Linked DNA regions of Homo sapiens: regions 1 and 2 are each linked to region 3. The links are contacts of gene promoters, found by promoter capture Hi-C in blood cells and fetal thymus (Javierre and others, 2016). All regions are on one chromosome and are shown on one strand. The core of a region is centred on a gene start or on the middle of the fragment in contact, and the rest is flanking DNA. Distances in the headings are between cores, read along the strand shown.

Region 1 (3,770 bases), core at 496-2,995, 330 kb after region 3:
TCCCTCCCCTTTTGAAAATCCCTAATAAAAACTTGCTGGTTTTTGCGGCTAGTGGGGCATCATGGAACCTACTGACATGTGATGTCTCCCCCGGATGCCCGGCTTTAAAATTTCTCTCTTTTGTACTCTGTCCCTTAATTTCTCAAGCTGGCCGATGCTTAGGGAAAATAGAAAAGAACCTAGGTGAATATTGGGGCAGGCTCCCTGATGAAATGATATATATTCTTAAAATAAACTTTTCATCTTTGCATATACGTTTATATGCCGAGTTTTCTCCAACCTTGTCTTACAGCACTTTGTATACTACATTCTAGCCATACTAAACTCTTGCAGTTCCTGAGACATGTGCTGTATCCTATTTCTTCTGGTCCTTTTCTCATTGATTAACTACCTGGAGCATACTTTTAATTCAGTGTCAGTCTGCTTTGCAATCTTTACTTAAGTCCTAGGTAACCATTTTGTCATCTAGCAAGCTTGCCTTGACATCTTACCTCTGTTCCCCTAGGAATATTCACACCATTGGCTCTCAAATCTACATGTGCTGTGAATTTCTTCTATTCTAGAGGTTGATACGCTTTTCTGCACAAGGCCAGCTAATTTAGGCTTTGTGGGCCAGATAGTCTCTTGTTGCTCGCTTTTGCTGTTGTAGTGTGAAATCAGCCATAGACAGTTTATAAGCAAGTGAGTGTGGCCGTGTTCCAATTAACCTTTATTTACAAAAACATAAAATGGGCCGAGCGCGGTGGCTCACGCCTGTAATCCCAGCACTTTGGGAGGCAGAGGCGGGCGGATCATGAGGTTAGGAGATCGAGACCATCCTGGCTGACACGATGAAACCCTGTCTCTACTAAAAATACAAAAAATTAGCCAGGCGTGGTGGCAGGTCCCTGTAGTCCCAGCTACTCAGGAGGCTGAGGCAGGAGAATGGCGTGAACCTGGGAGGCAGAGCTTGCAGTGAGCAGAGCTTGCAGTGAGCCAAGATCGCACCACTGCACTCCAGCCTGGGCCACAGAGCAAGAGTCCGTCTCAAAAAAAAAAAAAAAAACATAAAATGGGCAGGAATTGGCCTGTGGACTATAGTTTGCCACCCACTGGACGAGGCCATGGGTTCTAGCACCCAGCAGAAGGCTTGATCAGTATATTTGTTGAATGGATAATAGCTGTGTAAAGTTCATTATTACTGTTGGGAGTTGGCTTTGGAATAGGGTCTTCCTCCTGTTATTTCTAATCCAAGTGTAGGTATGAGTTCTGTATTGGCAATGCAGTGTTTATCTCAAAATGTTCAGAAAGGAGTTAGACATTTCCTGGTAATAAATATTTTCCTTCAGGTGACTCCTAAAACAGATAGTGTAAAATTCTGATTGTTTCTTGTTGGATCAGAGGAATGCAATCTGGCCTCTTACTCTTAGATATTAGTTGCTTTTTCTTGCTAGCCCCATGTTCTACTAAGGATTACTATCTAGGCCCAATGTGTATAAGCCAACTAAAGTGATAGGACATGCATTTTTATGAGTGGCTATGCTCTGATCTCTCTGATCAAATAAATTTTAATGATCAAATAGATTTTGATGTAGAGTTCTGTGTGTATGTGCATGAAAGTTTTTCCTTAATCCTTTTTGTGTTAACAAATAGGGCATTTGTTGATAGCATTTGCTGTACCATAAAGTTTGCCAATAACATTTATTCTACCAATTTTCTGACTCGAAGTCAGATGACATTATGGTAGATCTGAAAGTGTTAATTTTTGTAGTACCATCCATATTCATAATCTATTTTACTTTTCCATAGATATCTTGTGGCACATGTAATGTAGCTCTAATACGTGTTGTTAGGGAGGTAGGGTAGTTGGTCAAAAGGAAACTAGACATTTAAGACAGACTTACCAAATGAGTTCATTTTAACGTGTTTATTGAAAACCTGCTCTGTGTAGGACACTAATGTATAGGTTGGTGCAAAAATAAAAACTGTTTTACCATTATTTTTAACATGTTCAAGTACTTATACTTCTACATATAAGTTCAGGTAACTTATATGTTATACTTTTTAGGTGCTAATATGAGTGTACAGGTAACTATTACATGGTAATATGTAGCTGACAAAAAGGGTACAGCAGTCTCCATATATCCTTGGCTTCAGTTTCATAGAAAATAAGAATAATGATAAGGTTTTTTAGACGTTAAAGCAAGGTGTGTGAAAATGCTTTGAAAAGTGGAAGGCATTATGCAAATATAAAGAGATATTACTGGCATATGCCTTGGGGTATCACTTTATGGGAGACAAACACTGGCTAGTTTTTTTTGCACATATTCCTTCTTTGAGAGCAGTAGAACTGTATGATAAGAATAAATCATAATGTCAGGTAACTTTTATTGCATAGAGATTATTACATATCAGGAACAATTCTAAACACTTTACACGTACTAACTGTTTAATCCACAGAACAATGGATCCTGTGGATCCTTTCTCATAGGATAATATCCTGATATTATCCTGATATACCAGATACTATTATTATCCACATCTTACAGTTGAGGAAACTGAGGCATAGGATGTTTGTAAGAGTCTGGATTTAAACTCATTTATTCCAGAATGCCACAGTGCTCTACCAGTTCTCCTTATTTCTTGTTAATAGAGACGGATATTATGTGTTAATAGAGACAGAGTTTCACCATGTTGCCCAGGCTGGTTTTGAACCCCTAGGCTCCAGAGATCCGCCTGCCTCAGTCTCCCAAAGTGCTGGAGGATTACAGGCATGAGCAACTGCTCCTGGTCTCTATTATCATTTTCAGTGCCAGTTCTCTAATCACCTGTTCAGTTTTTTGTGCAGTAATGGGTTTATTCAAAGTGTGTTTCTAGGGTAATTTTGTAATATGTATTTTTATTAGAGGAAACCATCAGTTTCCTCTTAGGTTTCCAAATATGCTGCTATAAAGTTGCATGCGTTATGCTCTTAAGATTATTGTTGTCTTTTCTCTTTCCTTTCTATATTTTTCCTCTTTTTACCTAATCAAGCTTTAGGAAAGGTATTAGTTTATTTTTAAAGAACCATGTTTTAGGTTCTTAAAGCTTGTTTTCTGCTTAATTTTCTTTGGTTCTCAGACCATATTGTACCTTGGAATAATTGTGGAGTAATTGATCAAAACAAAAACTAATTTCAAGGTACCATTTCCCAAAATTCTGATTCATTATTGTCAGGGTTGGTCATGGACTGGGAACCTGCATTTTATCAAGCACCTCAGGTGGTTTTGCTTGTGGTCCAGGGATGACCAGGTATTAAGAAATTTTGTACCTGGGATACAGAAGAATACTACACTTATTTTTTATTATTTTTCTCATCAGCAACAAATGAAATCAACCTACTCTGAGTTTCTGTCAGGTGCAGGCAGGTAGAGAATGTTGACCACTAACTAGACTATTGGCTTATAGCAGAAAACAGCTCTTCCAATATCCATTTTATTGTTTAATAATTTTTTTTGTTTTCTTTTGTTTTCATCAAAGGCACACGTGCACAAATCCTAGACAGGCTCCTTTTCTGTGACTGATGTACAAATGACCACCTTTGTTAAACCTGAACTGTTGTAGTAAAAGTGAATGCTATGGGACCCAACACTTGAAAGCCATAGGTTGCTAGGTCTTCAGACTGTCTGGAGCCAACAGGTGGCAGCAGGTCTACATACTGGTTTATAAAGACAGAATACTCTCCTTACAAAAAAGTTTAACTTGTAGGTTTACAGTCCTTAATTTTAGGGAAATGTCCCTCGGAAAGAAGT
Region 2 (4,012 bases), core at 908-3,407, 260 kb after region 3:
CCAAAGTACAAGGATTAGGTAGCCCGACCTCTAATGTCCCATCTCACTGCAATTCTGTGATTTCATGGAATAATTTCCATCCAAATCTTTATATTAAGCAGAAATAAATTCCAGTTTCAGTGGGGGAAAAAAGGAATCTCTTTTTGAAAGTTAAACTTTCTATTTCCTGGCTTCATTATGGGAACGGATGACTTAGAAAAACCTGTCTAAGAATTAGAATATAAACCATTCCTAATGCTCAACTATGTTGAAGCAGACAAAATTTTTACTTCTACTAATCTGTACATATAAAATGTTAAATATCTCTACTTGGAAGTTCTTTTATTACACATAAGGAATTAGTATGAATATTTTCAGAAATTATAGATGCATACAAATGTGATTTAATTAAAGGTTCTATTCTATAGAATTCCAGATAAATCTTTATTTCACTCATTAAAACCTTTTAAATTGCTTGTTTTACAAAATTATGTATTTGTATGTGTGTGTATATATACCTCACCTTTACAGCATTCAAAAAATTCTCTAATTGCTGAGTGTCTATCTGAATTGTTTAACTTATCCATTTACCTGTTTTATGCATGAGTTTGATAAACATAAAATATCTTGAAAGCCATAATCATGAGTCTACACTTTTTTCTGTAGGAAATAAACAGGACTTTCAGTCTTTAAAGGCAGGACTGAAATAACACCATCTATGCTACAGGAGGAAACTCTAGTGACAACGCTAGTTTTTAGTCCAAAATGTGGACAATTATTTTTTTGACATTAGCTAACTAGCCAAGGTTACTATCTAGTTCACAGCTGGCAAATGGACAAAACAGGATTCAAAGCTTGGCCTGTTAATGAGTTATTGACAATGTTTGGTTTCAGCACTTGCCTGTACATCATGAAGCAGTAGAAAATGTGTCAAAACTGTGTTACGAGACTGTGTTCTACTCCTGACCCTGACTAAGCTTTGTGATCTCTAGGCCTCAGGTGTTTTTATACACAAAATGAGACAGTTAGATTAAGTAATAAAGACCTCTAGTAATAAAGTTGTATGACTATAACTCAATTACTATTGGACTTGTCTGTGTGTTTCTTCTGTTAATAAATCCATCACAAAACAATAAGAAATTACACCAGACCAAAAAAGAATGACATATCGACCATTGCTTTTGTGTCAATGAATCTTCCAATAGTCTGTTTTACTTTCTATAATATGGCTGAAAAAAAAAACACTGGTTAGTTATATTACATTGTAATGGGATTTAATATCATTGGACCCATTATTTTTATAATATTACTTCTCATTTATGAGTTATAAGAATATATTTCCACATCAAAAGATTACCTCAAAATCCTAACATTTTTCCCATTTGAGCTTAGTGCAATATTACTTCCATAGACATCAGTGAAGATTCTGCCTTGGATTGTTATTAGTGTACCTGAAAACAAACAAAAACCCCAAAAAGATTCTGTGTAAGAAAATCTATCCATACACTTAATACGAAAACATAAGAGATTTTCCCAATAAAACCAGGACCCAGACACTTATACCTCATGTTTGCCACTATTGTTTAGCATTGTTCTGAAAGTTCTAGCAAACACAATAAAATATGAATGAGTATCTGTAAATATTCATTGAGTAAAGAAGTGTAGCATAGAAGACAGGATGGTATTCCACAAGTACAGCTTGGGTCAATCGGTGACTATTTGAGAAAAAAAAAAAAAAGATCTCTGTACCAAAAAGTAAGAGAAATCTTAGGTGAAATAAAAATGAAATATAAAAAATAAAACCATAACAATTATTGAAAAATAGGTGAAAATTTATATAATATTTATATAGTTAGGTTAGTAGGGCCTCCCACCCATTTTTAAATGCTATTTAAAAATGAAGAAAAAACAACAAACGTTAAGATCTATAGATGTGATAATAAAAATAAAAGGTTGTCTGATGACAGAAAAATCATTAACATGTTTTAAAAGTAAATGATAAATTCAAAATATATGTCTTACATATAACATATAAATGGTTAATATCCTTTTTTAAGGATATATAAAGAATCCTTGTAACTTAATAAGAAAAATGGTGAATAACTTTAAATTAAGCCAAAGAGATAAACAGGTAATGTATAAAAGAAGGAATACAAATGGTCAATAGGCAAAAAATAAGTTTAATTACATAAATTAAAGAGTTGGAAAAAAATTTAAAACTACTGTATCTTGTATATTAATTCTTGAAAAAATAGTACCTAGAATTGTCAAGGTTATACATTCTCTGTTATTGCCATTGGGATTATAAACTGGAATAATATAGTTATTATAATGAAACCCTGGAAACCAGTTGAATGTATAAGTGGTGGGGGTGGGAGGTGATAAATACATTATAGTAGATGAAGATATAGCCATTGAAAATCAATTTTTTAAAATATTGGTACTTTTTTCTTTTTTTTCAGATAGGATCTTGCTCTGTCATGTAAGTTCAATCATGTCTCACTGCAGCCTCACACTCCTGGGCTCAAGTGATCCTCTCGCCTCAGCCTCCGGAGTAGCTGGGACTAAAGGTGCTTGCCACCAAGCCTGGCTAATTTATTTATTTTTATTTTTTAGAGAGAGGGTCTCATGATGTTGCCCAGGCTGGTCTCAAACTCTTGGGCTCGAGGAATTCTTGCATTTTGGCCTCCCCAAATGCTGAGATTGCAGGCATGAGCCACCGCGCCTGGCTGATAGTTATTTTTATAATGAAAAAAATGCTATTTAAAAATTGCAGGAATTATACTAATTTCATATACTAAAAAATAAACACATTATTTACCATGAAACCAAAAGTTATTTCAGATGTCATATAACAGACCTGGAGTTCCAGATAAAGGTGTGATGCTTCTTATTGTTGGGGTTCTAAAACTTTTTGCCTGTAAAAAGAATAATGTCAATATGAAAACTTATCTCTGTTTTGTTTCTAGTTTTGTGAAATAGATAATTTCTTACATTACTAAATTTCAACAATATTCATAATGTAACTGTCATGTAGGAAAGAAGATATTTAAATAAGATGAACCTAAGAGTTAAATTAGAGGATAGGATCATCGTGGTTTTGCTTCTTAATAGCTGTGGGGCTGAAAGAGAAGGGAGAGAGAAACCAAGAATGGTAACAGGTTTCTAACTTGAGATGGTGAGAAATAATCAGAGAAAAAGTAGATTTAAGGAGGAATACAAAAACTGCAGTTTGATGCTCAATTTAGGTCGCTTTAAGACCATTTAGGTGTGACATACCAGAAAACCAAACAGAGTTCCACGTCTGGGGAAACAGAAGAAAGCCAGAGATATCTGGGAATCGTATTTGGCAATATATTTTGGAATCATAGAAGCTTCTTGAAGACAGATGTCATTATTGTTTTCTTCAGTATTTCATCTTATATTAGAACATTGTACTACTCAGTAATTGACAACTTAAAACTAATATATATAAACTATTTATATATAAATATTTATATAAAAATAGTTTTATATATATTTATATATTATATATACTTATAATATATTTATATATTATATATTATATATAATATATAATTATACGTAATATATAATATATAATATACATACTATATAATATATTATAATATATAATATAAAATATATATTATATATAATATTAATTATATATTATGTATAATTGTATAATTATACATAATATATAATTCTATTATATATTATATAATTATCTATTATATATGTTATATATAACTATATATAATATATAATTATATTATATAATATATAATTATATATAATTATATATATTATTGTATATATTATATATAAATATATATAATATATACAATAATATATATAACTATATATTATATATAACTATTTATATATTATATATAATAACTATTTATATATAAAATATAATTATTTATATATATAACTAATTTAATTATATATATATGGGATAATGCTTAGAAGAAAATGTATTACTGCTAATACTTCTATTTAGGGCAGCTAAATTTTGAGTGGCTCT
Region 3 (3,993 bases), core at 292-2,791:
CATATATTCTTAGGCTTGAGAGTTGAGGACTCAGAAATGCTGTTTGGAGGATGGATGAAAGGGGACAATGACCCTCAGTTTTCGAGGAGCACAGTCCTCCTATGTAGGACACTGGTGCATAAGGATCAGAGTGTCGCACTGCTTGGAATATTCTCCAATTCTGAATAAAGGGTATATAAGTCATTATACATGGTGAATTCCACCACCAGATAAGATTTAAGGGTAGCAATTGTAATAAATCAAGGCCCTTGGCCCAGCTGATGTACCCTATTCTAAGTCCCCAGTTGGACAGATTTTCGAGCTTTCTTAAACAAATTTGTGTGCATCACAAATGCTTTTTCTGCCTGTCATGTAAAAGGCATCAACAAATATTGACTGGATCATCTGGACCTGACTTAGCTGCCCTTTGGAAAGTTCTGTTCAATCAGCTGGATAGAGCTGTTTGTTTTCCTCACCTAACCCTCACAGCTATCCTAGAGGTAGGTATCACTATTATTATCCCTCAATTTAACAAGGGTAAATTTGAAGTTCAGAAGGGTCAAGAACCGTAGGCGTAGGCCACGCATGCAATGGCATCCGCATGTAATTCGAGCACTTTGAGAGGCCTGGACGGGATGATCCCTTGATCCCAGGAGTTAGAGGTTGCAGTGAGCCCTGATCGCGCCACTGTACTACAGCCTGGGCCACAGAACGAGATGCCGTTTCAACAGCAACGGAAAAAAAAAAAAACAAAAAACGAAACAACAACAAAAACTTTAGGCATAAAGGCACTCAGGCTGAAGGGACCGATTGGAGTGCTGGCTTGAACTCGTTTTTCTGAGTTCAATTCCAGTGCTCTTCCCTTAGCAGTGTGCTGGAGCTACTTCCTGGAGCCGGGCAGCTGCAGGGCAGCGCTGGGGAAAAGACTGTTCTCTGGCTACATAGCAGCCTGGCTTCTCCAAGCCGGAGGGAGCTGCGCTGACCACTGAAGGCCTTTCTGATGCAACCCCTTCCAAGTAGAATCCATCGCAGCCTTTCAGATCCCGGAACCCAGAGGCTGTGTCGGTCCTGACGCACTGGCTTGGCTGGGCTCCGGTACGAGAGGGATCTCTGCAGCTCTCGGGCGAGGCAGTTGTGGGGAGCTGTAGGCTGACTTAAGACCTGGAGGCCAAGGAGGGGTGGCCAGGGGAAAACTTTCTCTATTTTGTCTCTCTGTGATGTCGCAGCTTTTCTCAGTCACTCCATCCAACGCCACCCACTTCAAACCTGAGATCAAGTGCAAAAAAAAAAGAGGGTGGGGTCACCCCTGGGCTGGAGATGCCGCTAGCCGCAGCCTGCCTACACCGGGCCGAGCTCCTTGGAGAGGGAGGGACACCGGCTCTGGCTGGGGGGGCGCGGAGTGCCGTGGGGAAATCGGGCGGGTGGGGCGCGCCCAGGCGCGGTCGAGTTGCCCCGAAGGCCGCAGGTGAGGGAGGGCGTGGGAGGCGCCCCAGGAGCTGCCTCTAGCGAGTGCGGCACCACGTGTCCGGCCGGGGCGGGGTCGGGCGTGCCCTCGGAGCCCAGAGCAATCGGCGGCAGTGGCGGCGGCGGCGCGTTGGAGCCTCACCAAGAGCCGCCGCCCGCAGCCCGCGCCGGCTCAGCGCAGTCTCCTCGCTCCGTGCTCGCAGGTGCCTCCTCCTGGACGGCGGCAGCGGCGGCGCGAGGAGCCGGCGGGCAGCGGCGCGATGGGGCCCCTCCGCGAGAGCAAGGTAAGGAGCGCGGGGCAGTGCGGGCACTGGAGGGCGGGGAAGGCGGGCACTGCGGGGCGAGAAGCGGCGGGATGAGAGCTGGAGGGGTGACATTTAGAGTCTGGGGAAAGGTGGAAGGAGGTGGTGGTGGGGTCTGGAGAAGGCAGGAGGCATTGCTTAGGAGTTGAGATCCAGGAGATGGGGAGGTGGTACTGGAGGAATAGATTTTGGAGAATGACATGATTGGAGGGTTAATCCCACCTCCTGAAACTGGGACTGTGGGGTGTAGCTTTCAGTTGATATCCTGTGTGTGTGATGTGAATGAAAGGAATTTGATGCATCCGCGACTGGGAAAAGAGGACTCCCGCGTGTCAGTGACCCTGCCTTAGCTCAGGGTCTGCGGTGTGCCCGGCGGAGTGGCTGGCGCATGGTACCTGCTGGGCGGCAGATGTGCAGGGCGAATCCGAGGCTGCGTGCGGCTGGCGGCCCCCGGGTAGAGTGGATGCCTGAGGGCCCTCCGAAGTTCCCCATTGCTGAGGTTTACCCTTCAATTTATGCCATGTGCCGGCCTCCCAGAGGTGTTTATTTTGGCCGTGACCCTTCCTGGTAAGCCGGTGGAAGGAACAGTAGGTCATGTTTCGAAAGGGTGTTTGTTACCTAAGCCAAAGAGTCCCTTTCAGTGGCAGAGGTTGGAGGAAGCAGTGGAATTTTTGCAAAACGCTCCTCCTAGGAATCCATTTTCATAAGGCAGGGTGGTGGTGACCCTGCAAAGCACTGGATTTGAATTTCGTTCTACTTCTGGCATGGTGTGCAGAATTGCCTAAGCATCTCTACCCCATTTAGCCTGTTTCCTCATCTGAAAATAGGGACATTCATTGGTGTGCTCTCTATGTACAGTCTGGTGTGTAAAGATCAAATGAGAAAATGGTTGGAAAAGCACTTTATAAGTTGGAAAACATTGTGAAAATATTACTGTTACGCATTTTTAAAACCACGAAATGGCAGGGTACTTCATGCTGCGTTTTTAAGGAGAAAGAAAAATCTCTTCTTATGGATGTCCTGTAAGGAAAACAAAAATTAAAGATGATGTAAAAGGTGGAGCCATCTTCCCGAGTATCGGATTTGTGTTTGCTTTTCTGTTGGCAACAAGCCTTGTGTACCAGGATATTAACGAATAATTAAGATCCTGTCCAGAAGAGGAGGGATTTTAAAGATAATTGTGTGTGAGCTATCAGGAAATAACTGTTCCAGGTATAGGGTTCAACTTTGTGAGGAGACAAGAAAACAAGTCAGACTGTCACAGCTAATTTAGGGAAAGCAAAATGGAAGTCTGAAGGCTATCAAGTAAGCCAGAGTGTGGTGTTAATAAAGAGCCTTTGGGAGGCAGAAGCTTGAATGTGATAGAAGTCAGGGTGGGAAGGTGAGTCAGGACCAGCATAGGGAAGTAGGATGGCCTTCCAGCTAGTGAGTGGAGGTGTGTATATGTGTGTGTGTGTGTGTGTGTGTGTGCCACACAGACATGTGCTATTCAGTAGATTAGAAAGGTTAACTCATTGGAAGAGTTTTGAAGCTCATTTCAGCAACTGAGATAAGAAGGACTACTCTGTGAAGACTCAATACTCAGAAATGTGATTTCTTAGAAATTGATCCTTGAAGGAACCGACAGGAGTTAAGAGAGGGAAACGCGTTTCCTTTTGTTTTCTTTTTTGATGTCCAATTTTGAGAAGGAGCACAGAGTGCAGCATCATGACAAGGAGATTTCTCGAAGCCGAATTCCCCGGTTGATTCTTCGGCCCCATATGCCCCAACAACAGCACAAAGTGTCCCCAGCCTCTGAGTCTCCTTTCTCTGAGGAAGAGAGCAGAGAGTTCAACCCCAGCAGCTCTGGGCGCTCAGCGAGGACCGTTAGCAGCAACAGCTTCTGCTCAGGTACAGTACCCTCGGGAGGCCACCAGAGGCGTGAAGCGTGTGCACTGCAGGTGCATTGTGAATGGGCCCATACTGGGTCCCTTATAGCCTAGAACTACACTTCTACTATTAGGATGAATTGTAGAAGGTGGTACATTTCTGGCTGTTGTGACCTACAAACACAGCAGTTTCATATAGTTCAGTTTATTGGAATCTCACACCTGAATTTTCATATGTTATTCTAGCTTATAATTTCGAATGTAAAATCTAACTTCTTGTTTCTATGACTTTTTTCCTTTGTTTTATTATACTTTAATTTCTGGGATACACGTGCAGAACATGCAGGTTTGTTACATAAGTATACACATGCCATGGTGGT

The links. Contacts are between HindIII fragments. The CHiCAGO score rates a contact against its expected background, and 5 or more counts as called.
Region 1: a fragment that was not itself captured here is called in contact with the fragment with the promoter of SYBU in region 3 in 3 of 17 cell types (total B cells, naive B cells and naive CD4 T cells); the score reaches 6.8 in total B cells.
Region 2: a fragment that was not itself captured here is called in contact with the fragment with the promoter of SYBU in region 3 in 1 of 17 cell types (total B cells); the score reaches 7.6 in total B cells.

The regions. Positions count from the first base shown.
Region 1 is chr8:109,316,234-109,320,003 of GRCh38, reverse strand. All of the region lies in intron 2 of NUDCD1 (NudC domain containing 1), which reads left to right. Among named protein-coding and RNA genes, the nearest start is that of NUDCD1, 16 kb to the left of the region's middle. RefSeq lists an enhancer at 1-127. The HindIII fragment of the contact is 2,539 bases long and covers 476-3,014 here.
Region 2 is chr8:109,382,955-109,386,966 of GRCh38, reverse strand. PKHD1L1 (PKHD1 like 1) reads right to left here. Exons shown (of 78, transcript NM_177531.6): 5 at 2,840-2,897; 6 at 1,337-1,430. Among named protein-coding and RNA genes, the nearest start is that of PKHD1L1, 22 kb to the right of the region's middle. The HindIII fragment of the contact is 2,397 bases long and covers 959-3,355 here.
Region 3 is chr8:109,642,370-109,646,362 of GRCh38, reverse strand. It overlaps SYBU (syntabulin), which reads left to right and starts at 1,541. Exons shown (of 7, transcript NM_001099754.2): 1 at 1,541-1,727; 2 at 3,431-3,635. The coding sequence starts at 1,704. It overlaps SYBU-AS1 (SYBU antisense RNA 1), which reads right to left and starts at 2,234. Exons shown (of 2, transcript NR_161375.1): 1 at 2,141-2,234; 2 at 1-1,245. RefSeq lists enhancers at 857-1,176, 838-1,774 and a silencer at 1,287-1,776. The HindIII fragment of the contact is 4,274 bases long and covers 1-3,098 here.